Linked DNA regions of Homo sapiens: all the other regions are linked to region 2. The links are contacts of gene promoters, found by promoter capture Hi-C in blood cells and fetal thymus (Javierre and others, 2016). All regions are on one chromosome and are shown on one strand. The core of a region is centred on a gene start or on the middle of the fragment in contact, and the rest is flanking DNA. Distances in the headings are between cores, read along the strand shown. Region 1 has its middle 140 kb from the start of LINC01893. Region 2 holds the start of CNDP2 (carnosine dipeptidase 2). Region 3 overlaps ZNF516 (zinc finger protein 516).

Region 1 (3,770 bases), core at 550-3,049, 1.8 Mb after region 2:
CTCAAGAAGCATTTTCAACAAATCAACTCATGGTTATATAATCCAGAATGTATCTAAAGGTAATAAACAGCCCTATCTATGCCAGACATCTTATATTATAATCACTTATTTGCCTTGCAATTATGTTTCTAAGAAAATATTTCAGTGACATTGTAAGTTCATCACAACTGAAGAGTTCACTATTTTTTCTCCTCTGCAATCTTACATTTAACAAGCTTCTTCATCATTTCCTAAAGTAGTACTATTATAAAAGAAATAGTCTGGAAATCCCCAATGACAATTTTCTTCCAAGAAGCCATTTTAAAATTGCATAACTGATTTACAGTGGCTGCTAAATTCTTTCTATTAATAGTGCAAATTTAAATTCTGGTTCTCCATCAGACATTGCAGAAAGGGAATTGCTATTTTGGTTAATCACAAACCCAGCAGGTGTCCAGCAAAGGGCCTGACTTCTGTGGGCTTCCCTGAGGTGCAAGGGCAGCTGAGCGGTAGACATCCTATGATGTCTGGTGCTGTGATAGGTGCACGCTGCAATCTGAATTCTATCCACCACTCCATGGAAACTGCCCTACTACATCAGCAGAGACGGGCTATTTCAAAGCACAATGGACTCATCTAGATTCATGTTTGCTTTAACTTCAGCTTTTAGTGAGGCCTGCCAACTCCATATCTGAACCCATAACTAGCTACATTTCCTCTTCCCTTAGTCCTATAGGAGCATCATCACCTATTGATACTTTGACTTCTTTTTCATCTTTATTTTCTTCTTAGAGAGTTCACACATTTTCATGACGTAAGCATGAGTCTAATCAAACATGAATCTTTATTTTCAATCTCACCTCCTCCATGAATCTTCTGGCCTATATTTCCAATTAATTTTAGCACAGTGTGAATTACATATGAGGATAATGGTAATGATGAGGACGATGGCAATAATGATGGTGAAGATGGTGGTGATGACGATGGTGATGGTGATAATGGTAATGGTAATGATGATAGTGATGATGAAAATGGGATGATAGTGATGATGGTGATGGTAATGATAATTGTGATCATGGCAATAATGGTGATAGTGATGGTGATTGATGGTGATGATGTGATGGTGATGATAATGATGATAGTGATGATGATGGTGATAATGGTGATGGTGATTATGATGATGATGATGGTGGTACAGATAGTGGTGATGCTAACAGTGATGATGATGATAGTGATGGTGGTGATGGTGATGATGATGGTGATTATTATTACGGTAATAACGGTGATGGTGATGGTGATTATTATGGTAATAATGGTGATAGTGATGATGGTGAAGATGGTGGTAATGATGATGCTGATGATGATGATGATGATAATAATGGTGACGGTGATGATGGTGATGATGGTGATGGTGATAATGATGATGGTGATAGTGATGATGGTGATGGTGATGAGGGTGATAATGGTGATACTAATGATGGTGATGGTGATAATGGTGATGATGGTGATGACAATTATTATTATTATTATGGTAATAACAGTGATCATGATGATGATGGTGATGGTGATGATGGTGAAGATGGTGGTAATGGTAATGATGGCAATGGTGATGATGGTGATAATAGTGATGATAGTGATGGTAATGATTATTATGGTAAAACAGTGATGAGGAAGGTGATGGTGATGATGACGAAGGTGGTGGTATGATGCTGCTGCTGATGATTATGATGGTAATAATGGTGATGATGATGTAGGTGATGGTGATAATGGTGATGAAAAAGATAATGATGGTATCATCAGAACCTCAGCCTTGTCCTGGGAAGAATCCCTATCTCAGGAAAATATGGTCATTCAGAAGACAGTTTAGAGAGACAGAAAAGGACAAACCTATTCAAAGTAACCTGCTAATCTCAGAAAAATAAAGATACCACTTTTGAGCCCCAAGTCTAATCAAAATACATGAACTTAGTACATGTCACAGTGATTTAATGTTTTTAGAAAAGGAGGCTGATTCCTCAGGCATTATAGAGATAAAACCTATGAAAAGAGAAGAAATTACAGAAATTCAGAACAAGACTAATCATATAGGTCCAGAGCTCTCCATATGCAAGTCCTCATGTATATCAAAGAGGGAAGATTTTAGTGGAATTTAGTTAGCTTTATTTTGCTCACGAATTGCTTTAGGAGTTCATCTTTTATGTTATAAATTTACATAGATAGACACACATGAGCTTTCCCCAGAAGCCTTCCCTGAACCCTAAGGTTTGGCTAAGTCTGCCTCCTCTGTTCTCCCAGGGTACTGTGCATACTTCTATTGTTGCACTCAGCACATTATTTGTGGTAGACTTATTACAAAAATACCTTCAAATCCTTAGCCTTCCCTGTATTCACATTTTTTGCAATACTGCTTGCAGACCATCCAGTCAAGAGGTGGAATCTATTTCCCCGCTAGGCTGGCTTTGGGAATTACTTTGGCCAACAGAATGGGGTGTGTGGAACCAGATGCTGGTCTCCGTCTTGCATATCTCCACTCTCAGTCTGGCCTCTCTGCCTTCATCACCAGGGTCCTGCTGAAGAGTGAGACCCAAAACGCAACAGTTGCTCCAGCTGAGCCCCAGGCACATGAGAAAGCTCAGCCATGATCAGAAATGCCCCCTCGCTGATCTGCAGCTGACTGCAGATGCATGAGTGATCCCTGGACCTGGCCAGCCCAGGTCAGCAAAACCACTCAGCTCATTGGTGGTGATGGCGATGATGGTGATAATGATGGTGAGCAAACCTCCATGGTCATTGTTGTGTGCCACCAACGTGGTGTGGATATTTGTTTTCTAGGTCATGAAATAAAGCAGTGGCCAAGACAGTCTCTGCCTTTAGGGCATTTATATTCTGGTGTGGGAGACAAATAATAAACTATACCTATGTGTGTTTGTGTGTGTGTGTGTGTGTGTGTGTGTGTGTGTGTGTGTATGAATGACACATAGTGGCAAGTACTAGAAAGAAAAACAGCAGACAAGTGGATAGAGCATGATAAGGGAGCATTCTAGCTTCCACAAGCAGCCAGGGCAGCTGTACCTGCCCTCTGGGAAGGGGCATGGGGGCTGAGACCTGTGAGACCCAGATGAAGTGAGGCAACAAGCTGAGCGAAGGCCCAAGGAAAGTGTTCCAGGAAGCACAGGTGCTTCGCGGAGGACAGTGTTTCATTGATCACATGTGGCCTGCTGCCCAGGACAGAGACAACATTTGGTATTTGTCGATCAAAATATGGAAAAACACAGGGTGTCTATTATTGGGCTTCTGAAATGTTTCCAAATGGTGGCCAAGATTAGAAGATATGCATCTTTCCCAAAACCAGAAATATTTCTAGCTTTAGTTAAATTCACTGTATTTATAGGTGAGCTAACTGTCAAGCTTTCATCTAGAAAAATACTTAAATTTGAAAATCTAGGAATACCTCAGAAGTCTAATCCACCTACACTTGACTCATCGAGGGCTGTTTTCCAGAACTTTCTATCATACTTATTATTTCAAAAGGTGAAGAAAATCCAGTCAGGGAGTCATTCACAAGGGACCAATGAGCCTCCAGTCAGTTCCACACAAGGGCCGGGCACTCGCTGCTGCGTCCTGCCTCCCACCTCCCCACGGGCTCCGGAACTGCGTCCGAAGGGTGGCATCCTTCCTGCCTGGCCTCAGCTGAGCCTGCACTGCCCAAGGTCCCCAGCGGTTGGCTGGAACTGACTAGTCAGGGCCGGGCCGGTGGGGCATGAGCGGCTCTTGTGGCCCACCATTGGCCT
Region 2 (3,654 bases), core at 892-3,391:
GACACTGATCAGGTACTGACTTAACATTGTTCCCAGGGGAATAATGACAATTAACATATTTCCAGGTAACAGGGTTCTATATTAAGGGTAAATGTTGTGTTTTGTATTTTCTTAACATTTATTCAGATTCATAGGAGAAACATGTTCACCAACTTCTTCAACACTGAGTACTGCAAATGCATTTTCATGTTTTCACTTGGACTGAAGCATCTGATTGCTCTAAAGTTCTCAACTACTTCTTTGCTCATTATTTATTCTTACCTTGAGCCTATTAAATTTTGGTAACAGTAGTGTGTTATGGCTTCTACTCTAAATCACTTCTTTTTGCTATATACATATGTGTGTGTGTGTGTGTGTGTGTTTTGTTTTTTTTTTTAACCAAACCCTCTTTTCAGCAATAATCTCATTTATGGATACCTGAACGAATTTATTTAAAAGCCCAGTAGATATGATTAAAGGATGTATCTTCCACCAATGTTTACTTTTTGCAATGTTTGCAAAATGTGTAATATAGTTTTTTCTTTTTATCATTCATGTACAATAATTATTATGAGAATTTAATCCAGAAGAAAAAATGTTAATACTTAAAGCTTTTTGGTTATAGCAAAGTGTCTATGGCCATACCACCCTGAACATGCCTAATCTCATCTGGTTATAGCAAAGTAAATATTAATTTAAATTTTTATCATAGTCTGTTGTAGAGAAATGATTAGGATATGAGTAAGACTATTAAGTATAAAAATGTTACATTTAACAAAATTCTATGAGGGATGTGGAATAGAAATAAAAAATAAAAGAGGAGGCAGGGATGGGGGGGACGGGGTGGCTCACGCCTGTAATCCCAGCACTTTAGGAGGCTGAGGCGGGTGGATCAGTAGGTCAAGAAATCGAGACCATCTTGACCAATATGGTGAAACCCTGTCTCTACTAAAAATACAAAAATTAGCTGGGTGCGGTGGTGCGCACCTGCAGTCCCAGCTACTCGGGAGGCTGAGGCAGAATGGCTTGAACCTGGGAGGCGGAGCTTGCAGTGAGCTGAGACTGGGCTACTGCATTCCAGCATGGCAACAGAGCAAGACTCTGTCTCTAAATAAATAAATAAATAAATAAATAAATAAATATAAAAAGAGGAAACAAACCATGTAAATTTTAAGGGAGGAGACAATTTTAACATTTTACTTTATGTGGGAACGTATACATCTCTTACAACTATTAAATTCATTTTTAAAAAATAATAACTCCCGAGCCATCACTCCTTAAAGAATGTGGTAGTGGTACAAGTTTAAAGAAAGTCTTTTGAGAACACTCTATTGGAAAAGTGAGCAGACTAGGGAATAACAATTTTACCCCCAAGAATTGTTGTTAAGATTAAAAAGGAAAGCGCTGTCGCAGACGCTCAAACACGGTGCTGGCTCTGCTTCCTTCATCAGTTCCTAGGGTCATGGGACACAAATACTAAAATATTTCCACTACTGGTAACGATGCTGGCGAACGCTTTCCTAATCCAGTTCAGACCGACCTCTCATTGGAGCTTGTGTGACCCGCAGGAGTCCGTGCCCCGACTCCGCCGGGACTGAAACGCAACGGAAAGTGCAGTGCTGGATGCGCAAGGGAATGGGAGCGTCGTGGGACCTCCGGAGCCTGGGAGATCAGAGGGTGGAGTCAGGGCCCCCTAGTTTTGGACTCCATTGCCGCACTGCAGGCGACTTCTCGGACCCCACCGTTGAAGCACCAGGCCCCCCGCCCACCCAAGAGCAACCGGGAAGCACAGCACAAGCCCACAGCTCCGGACACGCGCTCCCGTGTGCCCTGCCTCCCCTGAATCCCAACCCACGAAATCTCCGCCCCCTCGCCACGCCCACATCCCCGTCTACCGTCGGGGAGGGGCGACGAGGCGAAAGCCTTGTGGACCAGGCCGGGATTGGTGGGCGGGACGGAAATGGAGCTGGGAGAGGTGACGTCACCTTCCGCACCTGGCTCAGGGCGGAAATGGGGCGGGGAGAGAGTGACACCACCCCTCTGCCTGTGGCTGGATTGGTGGGCGTGGCGGGGGCGTGGCGATGCCTGCCCTCCGGACAAGGCGGGGTTGGTGGCCAGGGCGACCGCGGGGCGGGCCAGCGCCGGGGGTCGTGGCCGGGACACGTGGTACGGAACCGGCGCCGCGCTTGCTGCTGGTAACAGGGCCTTGCCTAGTGGGCCTTCCTTCCCAGGTGGGTCTTCCTGATGGACCTTCCTTCCCGGGTGGGCGCCCTGAGCTGGGAACGGGCTGGGCGGGGAGGACCCGGGTCAGCGGCGAGAGTCACGCCTCATTCGTGGGGGAGCGTGGGGCGCCCGGCCGCAGCCAGGCGGGAACAATGGTGTCCGGGCTGTTCCCGAGCGCGCGGTCGGGGGCGGAGGCCCGTGACGGCCATGGCCCCGGGGCCTCTCGCACCTCCGGGCCACTCGTGTCCCAGCAGCGCCGAGCGCGTCCCCGGTACGCAGGGACAAGCTGGGCGGCGCACTTGGCCTGAGCCTGCGTGGCCCTCCCTGGTGGAGTCGAGTGGAACGACCCGGGTTGGAGATGGGGTTGCGGGGAGCCGAGCGCTGGTCAGGCCACACCCCTCCCCAGGGGCCTGCTGAGAACTCCAGCCTTTCTCCAACGGATCCCTTTCCCGGAGACCTGGGGTGGGGAGTGTGGCGGGACAGAAGCCTCCCAGGTTCAAAGGGCCCTGGACAGCGTCCCTAGCTCCCGCCAGCATTTGAGGCAGCGTTTAAGGCTATAGGAGGAAGCGTCTGAGGGGAGACAAAATTCCCATGCCAGCTTGATGGTCTGGGGCAGGTGTCTTATTCAATTGGCTTCAGTTTCCTCATCTGTGAAATAGAGACAATATTTGGTCCTCACAGACAGGGCCACCAAACCAAACTCCCCACCGCCTGCCAAGGTCAGATTCCGTAGATCATCCAAGCATAGACTGCAGGAAGAGGCGGAGAACCCGGGGCCTGCTACCAATACCTTCCTTGTCCCTAATGTTTGCAGGCAGGAGTGGAGGAAGAGAAGTCCACATTATGCTTAGGGATCAAGTTCTAGCTTGGGCAGATTGGAGATTCTTTTATTGGTTCTTAATCAGACATGAAGGTGTGATTCAGTTATTTGTGTTATATATGCCTTCAATTATCAAGGGACAGGGACTGAGATTCTCAGAACTAGAAGACTCATTTGTGTGTACTACTGACGGTTCCAGGTGCCACAGCAATTTCTCCTGCCCTCCACTAGTCTCAACATTTAAATCATGTTACTCCCTTGCCAGGCATGGTGGCTCATGTGTGTAACCTCGGCACTTTGGGAGACCAAGGCGGACAGATCGCTTGAGTCCAGGAGTTCGAGACCAGCCTGAGTAACACGAGCAAACCCCGTCTCTACAAAAAATACAAAAATTAGCTGGGTGTGGTGGTGCGCACCTGCAGTCCCAGCTACTTGGGAAGCTGAGGCAGGAGGATCATTTGAGCCTGGGAGACAGAGGTTGCAGTGAGCCAAAATCACAGCAATGCACTCCTGCCTGGGTGACAGAATGACAACCTGTCTCTAAATAAATAAATAAAGTTACTCCGTATGAACTTTAGATTTTTAGAGGGGAGTGAGGTGTCATTTAAAAGGATAATGCTTTTGCTTAAATC
Region 3 (4,103 bases), core at 1,496-3,995, 1.9 Mb after region 2:
GCTTCTGATGCTTTTGTAACCATTGGGCTGAATCCACGGGGGAGCCACGGAGTTGCAGCTGACGCGGTGCCAGATGCGTTTGTGCATCCACAGGACCTCGGGGTAGTAGGTCTTGTGGCTGCAGTAAGGACACGGGTGAACGACTAAAGCCGCCTGCAGGGAGGAGGCCGTCTCCTTATTGCTGGGGTCATCCCGCGTCGACCTCGCACTTAAATCTAGCGGCATGAGGTCTGGGGCCAGCGCCCGCTTCCCTCCCCCAGAGTGTTCCTTGTTGTGCAAATCGGACAGCTTTTCTGCAGGGTGACCCGTCTGGCCCTCCGCTCCCGTACTGGAAGGGAACTCCACACCATCACCAGGGACGGGCACCTCCTGCTTGGGGTGAAATGCTGGCATCTTTAAGTCCATAGAAAATCTGTGCTGCTCTTGCCTTCTAGAAGTCTCTCTGCTACTGTTTTCAAGTATGGACACAGAAGCTGCGATCCCTGCCTTGGACTCGCCGGTGTCTCTTTCCGAGGCGTTATCTCCCATCTTGTGACTCTGGTCTCCACTGGAGAGCTCGGTCGAAGTCACCTCTTCGGAAAAGCAGCAGCGGCGCGGCTGTCCCCCTAGAGGAGGCAAAATATGAAACGGGAAGTTACCATTTCTCATCAGAACACAGCAAGACACACGGTGCGTACAGCTACAGCATGTTCCAAGCCATCTGTCTTCAGCGGGAGAAGCCACCCTTGAGTCTGGGTGGCTCTTAGAAAACCCCTGAGGAGCCACCCAGACAAGAACAAAAGGGGGTGAGTCAGGCAGGACTTCTTTTCTCAATTTAAATGACCTGAAAGATCACAGGGAAAAAATACAATAGCAGTGGTGTATCTAGTTACATGTAACGACGCTGTCCCTAGTTAACAGAGGGTGACTGGTATATTAAAACTTGGGAAAAAAATTAATTATTCACAGCAGTATAAGGTTCGTATGACTTTCGAGGAACTCTACATTTAGGGCTCTTGTGGAATCTTCACAATCATTCATTGCAGGGTAAGAAAACCAGAGAAGTTGGGTGGAGCCCACAGTCACAGAAGCAGGCTTGGGCAACAGCTTACTCTGTCCAAAGGACCCCCCGTGTCTGCCTCCGAAACCACTGGGCTACCGACCACCTTCCGCCTCAGCCATAGGGCTCCCTCCCTACGCATCTCTCCTGTGAGGGCAATTCTCAAGCCCAAAACACTGATGCCCCAAGGTCCCCCAGAGGCGGGTGAGCAAAGGCAGCCACGCTATCCACCTCCATGCCGCCACCTGCCGGCTGCCCAGGAGAACTGAGCCCGGGGTTCCGCCCCTCAAGCTCTGCGCCCCTGATGGTCGGACCTTGACGGAGAGCGTGTCTGAGCCACAGTCTGGGATGAACTCTGCGGTGGGGAGGGATGGTGTGGTCAGAACCCTCCCACTTTACCCAAGGAACGCGTGAGACAGGGAGAAACACAGCCGAGGTGTGGGCTGTGCTCGGAGGTTTTAAGGCTTTTCCAAAGTCAGAAGAGACTGTACTGCAAGTGGACACAACACGGATTAACAAAAATTCGGTTTTATGTTTTGCATTTACGGCCTTGGGTTTCTGTAAATCTAGACATCGAAACAGGGCAGGAGTACAGATGTTTCCGGATATCTTAAAACTCTCTGAACTATAAAACACAGGATTCTTCACCACCCAGCCGCCATCTGCAGTCCCTTACAGCCATGTCTCCGTATAAGGCCCCAAGTTCTTGGTTTTCAAATAAGATTTTCAGAGATTTTTAACATTCAGTAAAATGGAGGGATCTGCTAACTCAGAATGTTCCTTTAAAATGTTCTAAGTGTATATTTGGAGATAACACTTAGGAATCCCAACAAACTGGTAACAAATCCATTCCAAGGGGTTCTTCATCAGGGTGAGACAGCGCCTGTCACTGAAGGCACTTGCCCAGATCTGAGGGACACGGTAACAAATGCTGGTTTTCAATCAGCGGGCAGTTAGTGCGCAATTCATACGCCGTGTTAAAGGACTTGTCCATGTAAAAAACGCCAGCAGTTAAGGGCTGATCAGCAGAACTGGTGCGGAGATGAGACAAAGGAAGAAAAAACTATCCAACTCCTACCGGCTCCTAAAGGCTAATATTTAAATAAAGTCAAGGCTGGACACAGTGGCTTATGCCTGCAATCCCAGCACTATGGGGGGCCGAGGCGGGTGGGTCACCTGAGGTCAGGAGTTCAAGACCAGCCTGGCCAACGTGGTGAAACCCCGTCTCTGCTAAAAATGCAAAAATTAGCCAGGTGTAGTGGCACGCGCCTGAAGTCCCAGCTACTCCGGAGGCTGAGGCAGGAGAATCGCTTGAACCCAGGAGGTGGAGGTTGCAGTGAGCTGACATCACGCCACTGCACTCCAGCCTGGGCAACAGAGCAAGACTCCATCTTAAAAAATAACAGTAATAATGATAATAAAATAAATTTTAAAATAAAAAATAAATCAATGAAGTCAGGTATATGAGTCTGTTATACGCACACAGTGGTATGAGAAAGGAGACTGGGCAGTGCTAGGATGCACCACGGATAAAAACATGGAATTAAGTATATGAAAGAGGAAACGTTAGCCTTTGTTTAAGTCAGAATGGTGCTCAGTACGTTCGACTCATTTCTAAATATTCGAAAAAGGCAACATCCAGCAGGGAGAGATCTAGTTTTCCCTGCAGTAAAGGAATACAGATTTCTGAACACACATGTCCAAGACTACTAGTGGAGTCTGTCAGTGTAAACAATGCGGCTGTGTCATCGGCCCCTGTACATCTGTGGGGTTTTCAAAGCACGACTGTCGAGGCTTCCAAAATGTTCCCCAAAAGGATCATAAAACATCACCTAGAACTTCCAGTACCTCTGACCAAGACACTGAGTAATAAACTAAAAGTGAATAATCTAGCCAGGCACAGTGGCTCAGACCCATAATCCCAGCACTTTGGGAGGCCGAGGCGGGCAGATCACTTGGGGCCAGGAGTTCGAGACCAGCCTGGCCAACATGGCAAAATGCTGTCTCTACTAAAAACACAAAAATTAGCTGGGCATGGTGGCCAGCACCTGTAATACCAGCACTTTGGGAAGCCCAGGAGAGCGGATCATTTGGGATCAGGAGTTTGAGGACAGCCTGGCCAACATGGCAAAACCTCGTCTCTACTAAAAATACAAAAATTAGCCAAGCGTGGTGGCATGCGCCTCTAATCCCGAGGCTGAGGCAGGAGATTCCCTTGAACCCTGGAGGGGGAGGCTGCAGTGAGCCGAGATGGCGCCACTGCACTCCAGCCTGGGCAACAGAGCAAGACTCTGTCTCAAAAAAAAAAAAAAAAAAAAAAAAGCGCATGGTCTAGCCCAAGTTATCGATGTCACCGGTCGAGAGTGAACGGCAAAATGCCTCTGGAACACACAGACCCTGCACAGAGTCCCGAGCCACCCCAGGAGGGCGGGAGAGAAGCATGACCACGAGTGGAGGGGCAGCGGGCAGGAAACTGAAGCTATTCGCAGAAGCAGCTGATGAGCAGAAAGACTGAACAGCTTTCCAAGGACCTACTTCCTTTCCAAGGAAGAAAACACGTGGCTAACTGGAGAGGCGCAGGATCCTCAGCAACAAGGAACCAAGCACCTTCTCAGCCAGGGACCCAGGACCCTCTTCTCCACCAGGCACCTTCTCAGCCAGGGACCCAGGACCCTCTTCTCCACCAGGCACCTTCTCAGCCAGGGACCCAGGACCCTCTTCCCCACACCAGGCACCTTCTCAGCCAGGGACCCAGGACCCTCTTCCCCACCAGGCACCTTCTCAGCCAGGGACCCATGACCCTCTTCCCCACCAGGCACCTTCTCAGCCAGGGACCCAGGACCCTCTTCCCCACCAGGCACCTTCTCGCCAGGGACCCAGGACCCTCTTCCCCACCAGGCACCTTCTCAGCCAGGGACCCAGGACCCTCTTCCCCGGACCCTCTTCTGACCGAGGTTTCTTCATTACAGGATCAGGGCCACTGAAACAGCAAAAGCCTCTAGTGAGCTCCCGATCAGGCCTCAGGCCTTGGTGTACAGAGAGGCGCAGGCCCAAGCGCTCCCCG

The links. The method cuts DNA at HindIII sites, captures the fragments that hold promoters and counts their contacts. A CHiCAGO score of 5 or more calls a contact.
Region 1: a fragment that was not itself captured here is called in contact with the fragment with the promoter of CNDP2 in region 2 in 1 of 17 cell types (endothelial precursors); the score reaches 7.0 in endothelial precursors.
Region 3: a fragment that was not itself captured here is called in contact with the fragment with the promoter of CNDP2 in region 2 in 1 of 17 cell types (activated CD4 T cells); the score reaches 5.4 in activated CD4 T cells.

What each region holds. Positions count from the first base shown.
Region 1 is chr18:76,342,955-76,346,724 of GRCh38, forward strand. No RefSeq gene overlaps it. Among named protein-coding and RNA genes, the nearest start is that of LINC01893, 140 kb to the left of the region's middle. The HindIII fragment of the contact is 3,172 bases long and covers 214-3,385 here.
Region 2 is chr18:74,494,222-74,497,875 of GRCh38, forward strand. It overlaps CNDP2 (carnosine dipeptidase 2), which reads left to right and starts at 2,142. Exons shown (of 12, transcript NM_018235.3): 1 at 2,142-2,210. RefSeq lists enhancers at 1,428-1,697, 2,255-2,767, 3,151-3,250 and silencers at 1,968-2,477, 2,608-2,657. The HindIII fragment of the contact is 6,969 bases long and covers 589-3,654 here.
Region 3 is chr18:76,379,699-76,383,801 of GRCh38, forward strand. It overlaps ZNF516 (zinc finger protein 516), which reads right to left. Exons shown (of 7, transcript NM_014643.4): 4 at 1-605. Among named protein-coding and RNA genes, the nearest start is that of ZNF516-AS1, 110 kb to the right of the region's middle. The HindIII fragment of the contact is 8,193 bases long and covers 1-4,103 here.